Linked DNA regions of Homo sapiens: region 2 is linked to region 1. Evidence: promoter capture Hi-C in 16 types of primary human blood cells and fetal thymus (Javierre and others, 2016). All regions are on one chromosome and are shown on one strand. Each heading gives the region's core, a stretch centred on a gene start or on the middle of the fragment in contact. The rest is flanking DNA. Distances are from core to core; before and after follow the strand shown. Region 1 holds the start of ZNF549 (zinc finger protein 549). Region 2 overlaps ZNF544 (zinc finger protein 544).

What was found. The method cuts DNA at HindIII sites, captures the fragments that hold promoters and counts their contacts. A CHiCAGO score of 5 or more calls a contact.
Region 2: a contact is called between a fragment that was not itself captured here and the fragment with the promoter of ZNF549 in region 1, in 1 of 17 cell types (non-activated CD4 T cells). The highest score is 5.1, in non-activated CD4 T cells.

What each region holds. Positions count from the first base shown.
Region 1 is chr19:57,526,083-57,528,782 of GRCh38, reverse strand. ZNF549 (zinc finger protein 549) reads right to left here and starts at 1,427. Exons shown (of 4, transcript NM_001199295.2): 1 at 1,177-1,427. The coding sequence starts at 1,209. The HindIII fragment of the contact is 12,430 bases long and covers 1-2,700 here.
Region 2 is chr19:58,245,424-58,248,123 of GRCh38, reverse strand. It overlaps ZNF544 (zinc finger protein 544), which reads right to left. Exons shown (of 7, transcript NM_014480.4): 5 at 1,697-1,823; 6 at 1,330-1,413. Among named protein-coding and RNA genes, the nearest start is that of ZNF544, 18 kb to the right of the region's middle. The HindIII fragment of the contact is 193 bases long and covers 1,290-1,482 here.

The sequences.
Region 1 (2,700 bases), core at 178-2,677:
CTTGTATTTTCCTGGGAGAGCTGCTCTTGCTGGGCTTGGGCTTCTCTGCTAGTCTGGCTGACCTTTCTCTGGCTCCACATAGAGTGAACAGTTCGCCAAGTCTTCTGAATGGTGACTCTACACAGTGTCCCACCCTCAAATCCATCCTATGCAGTGTGTATTCCTTACACATTCCCTTTGGAAGTACCCCCGGAACCCCATGGCCCTCCTATCTGCAGGCAGCTTCGCCAAGGCCGACCCACACTTTCCCAGCCTCCAGCCTCAGCCCTCCCTCTCTTCATCTCAAAGTAAAACCTTAAGATTTCCCGTCTAAATTTAAGGCTTGGCTTGAGTCTACGCCCCAGCCTGTCTCCATTTACACATCACTGAGTCAGTCCCCTCCCATGAATTTTCTACTTATGATTCCAACTGCCCATGTAACAACTTCACTCTGTGGCAATTTAGAAACACCACGTCCAAAATTCAACTCCTACTATTTCCCTGAAACCTGCTCCCTCACCAGATTTCTTTGTCAACTCTTCCAGATGTTCAGGTAAAAGAAAAACTTGGGATCATACTTCACTCCCACTTTTGCTCATAGGCACAAATGATGGAGCAGAAAATCCTGCTGGCTTTACCTTTAAGATCTACCAAGATTCTTATTACTTAGGTCCCTTCAGCAACCCGTCTGGTCCAGAATCCACCATAATCCTCCTGGAGCCTACTACAGCAGTCTCCTCACCAGTATCCCTGCGTCCACCCCCATCACTCCGTAACAGTCTGTTTTCTCCACTCATTGCCTTTGAAATATTTTTTCAGACCCTCACTCAGATCGTGTTCTCCTTTAGTTCACAACCCTCCATGGCTCCCAAAGACTCAGAATTAAAAACCCCGGTTGCTCAGGCTGCCATGGCAGCCGTGCCTTCTTCTCCTCATTCTCTCTGCTCCCTGCAGACACAGGTCCGCCCCCAAGTTTCCGAATGCTCGCGACCCCGGCGCACCTCCCAGGCTCTGCGCGTGCAGCCCCCACGGTACGCAACGCTCTCCCTTCTTCACCTCACCGCCCGTCAGCTCTGAGGACCCCACCCAGAACTCCTCGCTGTCCTGGAGAAGAGGCCTGAACTGCAGAGACCCACGCAGGTGACCCCAGTCCGGGGCCTCAGGACCCAGGTGAGGATCCGAGGACTCCGCTCTCACCTGCGGCGTAATCACTAGCGCTGCCTCGGCCATGGGACTTTAGGCGGGGCGGGGCCTGGAAAGGCGGGCGGTAAAGCCCGGGATCCGGCGTGCGTGCGGTGGCAAATCGCTGGGCGACGCTCAGACCGAGACCAGGCAAGCTCCTCTGCGGGCGGACACCACCTCCACCGGTTTCCGGCTCCAGTTACCTGGCCCGGACCCAGCGAGCCGGAAACGCCCAGCCCGCGGACGCGCTCGCAGGCAGCAAAAACGACCACCACCGGAAAGACGCCGGAAGATTCTGGCGTATTGCGCACTTACGGAGGTGCCCCTTTCCTGGGCAATGATTGGTCTAAGGCCCCGGCACGCTCGGCGCACAGTATTCTGGGTGGTGTAGTTCCTACCACGCCGCAGTCCGCCGCGCTGTGAGGACTCAATCCAAGAAAGAGAGGACAAAGGAAAAAACCCATCAAACTAGGGTCAGCAAAGCCTATTACATACACAGGATAAAAGAATACGATTTGATCTTCATTTCTCAACACAAAAGTTGACATATATTGCATACAATACATTAAAAATGTTGACAATTGAGAATTGACGCGACCCTTAATTTTTTTCTTTTTTTTAATGTAGAAACTATAACCAAAAATAAAATTCAAAGGCCTCCCAACTATCTGAATGGACCCCCTCCTCTCAGCATTATAGAGTTAACCTGAAAATCTAGTTCAGGCCATTATGGAAGAAGGGGTTGGACATGCCTCATTCTACCCCTACAGCAATAACATCAGCATAGACCTTAAGTCTGATAAGAAACATTTACAATCTATTTCTCTGAAACTTGCTACCTGCAGGCTTCATCTGTATGATAAAACCTGGGTCTCCAACCAAGGTGATCACTAACAGTGGGGTCAGCATCCCCTTATCCCACACGTTTGTGTTTATTCTGTTTTTTTGCCCTCAAGTGTTAGTGACTTAAATTACATAATGTATCTATTATCATAAGTGGAACTGAAATGAGATTGCAGAAACATTATATCTTCTTTTTCTTTTCTTTTTTTCCTTTTTTTTTTTTGACAGAGTCTCACTCTGTCGCCCAGACTGGAGTACAGTGGTGCAATCTCTGCTCACTGTAACCTCCACCTCCCAGGTTCAAGCGATTCTCCTGCCTCAGCCTCCCGAGTAGCCGGGACTACAGGCATGCGCCACCACCCCCGGATAATTTTTGTATTTTTAGTAGAGACAGGGTTTCACCATGTTGGCCAGGCTGGTCTAGAACCGGCCTCAAGTGATTCGCCTGCCTTAAAGTGCTGGGATTACAAGCATGAGCCACCATGCCTGGCTTTTTTCCCCCATATTTAGCAATTAGCTTTTGTTGCTATCCATTGTCTTCATTTCTCTTTAGTTTTTAATTGTTTATAATTTTGACATTTTATAATTACTTAAGAAAGGTTAGAAAAATTACCATTTAGATTGGAGTCATATTAAATAAGACACCTATATTGTAAAAATATCTTTATGAATGTAATCTTTGGCTATAGTGTTGTA
Region 2 (2,700 bases), core at 137-2,636, 720 kb before region 1:
TGGCCAACATGGTGAAACTCTGACTCTACTAAAAATACAAAAATTAGCTGGGCGTGGTGGTGCGTGCCTGTAGTCCCAGTTAGTTGGGAGGTTGAGGCAGGAAAATCACTTGAACCTGGGGGGCGGAGGTTGCAGTGAGCTGAGATCACACCACTGTACGCCAGCCTGGTGACAGAGTGAGACTCTGTCTGGGAAAAAAAAAAAGGATGCCTCAAGATAGGTTTGCCGATTGTAACAGATGTACAATACAAATCCAAGTTGTTAACAGCAGGAGACACTGCATGTGTCTGTAGGACAGCAGACATGGGTGGGAACTCTGCACTTTCTCGTCAACTTACCTATAAACCTAAAACTGCTCTAAAAAATAAAGTCTATTAGCCTGGGCAACATGATGAAACCCTATCTCCATTAAAAATACAAAAATTAATGGCCAGGTGCAGTGGCTCATACCTGTAATCCCGGCACTTTGGGAGGCTGAGGCAGGTGGATCACCTGAGGTCGGGAGTTCGAGACCAGCCTGACCAACATGGAGAAACCCCACCTCTAATAAAAATACAAAATTAGGGCCAGGCGTGATGGCTCACACCTGTAATCTCAGCACTTTGGGAGGCTGAGGCGGGCGGATCATGAGGTCAGGAGATCAAGACCATCCTGGCTAACACGGTGAAACTCTGTCTCCACTAAAAATACAAAAAATTAGCCGGGCATGGTGGACATGCCTGTAATCCCAGCTACTTGGGAGGCTGAGGCAGGAGAATCACTTGAACCTGGGAGGTGGAGGTTGTGGTGAGCCGAGATTGTGCCATTGCACTCCAGTCTGGGCAACAAGAGCGAAACTCCGTCTTAAAAAACAAAAACAAAAACAAAAGAATTAGCCAGGTGTGGCAGTGTGCACCTGTAGTCCAAGCTACTAGGGAGGCTGACGCATGAGAATTGCTTGAGCCAGGGAGATGGGGGCTATAGTGAGCCAAGACAGCGCCACTGCACTTCAGCCTGGGCAACAGAGTAAAACCCTATCTCAAAATAAATAAATAAATACATACATTAATTAAAAAAAAACAAATCAAGTAAAGAGGCCTAAATGGTTGGGATGATGAACATGTTCTAGAACTGATTGTGGTGAGGGTTCCACACTCAGGGAAGACACTGGAAGCCATGAACTGCATACTTCGAATTGGTGAACTCCTTTGAATGGGTGAACTGCTGCAAAGAGCACCCAAGGAGGCTTCCTCCAAACAAGGCTCCCTCCTTGGCCCCTGGGGCCCTGCGGAGAGCTCTCTGTCCAAGCTTGTTAAACGTTGAGCTGCTCACCACAAGGTCTGCTCTTACCTCGGGGGGCCTCCTGCTCTGCCCTGCACAGGTCCTCTTCTTGCTCCAGCTGAGAGATCACATCAGATTTGGAAAGGAAAAGCCCTGGTCAAAGACGGAAAAAGGACTTGCCCCTCTGCTTGGACACCAAGAACCATGTCCTGGGTCCAAGCTTCAGCCCCTAGTGCTGTCCCGAGGAAACTCCCCACTGTTAGGACTACAAGTCACAAACCTGTCCCAGAGATAGAATGAAGGGCAACCCCTGGGAACTGCACCTGAAAGGGACCTGCTTCCAGTATCTTCCAGCACATCCCAGAACACCCTTCAGAACTTGGTACAGCTTTGAGTCCTAGGGGTAGAACCTCCTTCCATGAGCACAGCCACTTACCCAGGGAGACAATATGCTCCCAGGTCTCCAGTGTCACCTCTCGGTACAGTGTCCTCTGGGCCAGGTCCAGCTGTTCCCACTCCTCCTGTGTGAATGCCATAGCCACATCCTCGAAGCACACAGATGCCTGAAACAGGGCACTTGTTACTGCTCAGAGACCCCAGGTCCTCATGCCCTCACGGAGGTACCTGTTAAGGCCTAAATGTTGGTGTCCCCCCGTAAAATTCATACATTGGAACCTAATACCCAGTGAGATAGTGTTAAGAGGTGGGGTCTTTACAAGGCAATTAATGTCCTCATAAAAGAGGCTTGAGGGAGCCTGTGTTCACCTTCTACCATATGAGGACATGTAAGAGGTGCCATCTATGAGACAGCAGGCCCCAACCAGACCAACTCTGTTGACACATTGATCTTGGACTTACCAGCCTCCAGAACTATGAGCAGTCAATTCTGTTGTTTGTAAATTGCTCACTCTAAGGTATCTTATTATAGCAACCCAAACGGACTGGGACAGCTCCATGTATGTGGTCTGTACCATTCCTTTTCTGGGCATCTCACCTCTTGCCAGTCACAGCAGTGGTCCTGATTTCTAGACTGGAAATGACAGGAACTCCACTAGGAGATCCTCACCCACTTCCTCTCTACAAAAATCACAGATTCGAAATGAGGTAAGAAAGACACTCTAAATCGGGGTGGGAAAACTGCAGCCTGTAGGACAAATCAGGGCTGTGGTGTGTTTTCAAAAGGCTAATGCTATAGAATAAACTGTGTTCCCAAAATTCACATGTTGAACCCTAACTCCCAAAGTGACTGTTGAAGAAGGTGATTGACCGGGCACGGTGGCTCACGCCTGTAATCCCAGCACTTTGGGAGGCCGAGGCGGGCAGATCACAAGGTCAGGAGTTCGAGACCAGCCTGGCCAACATGGTGAAACCCCGTCTCTACTAAAAATACAAAAATTAGCCAGGCATGGTGGCACATGCCTGTAATCCCAGCTACTCTTC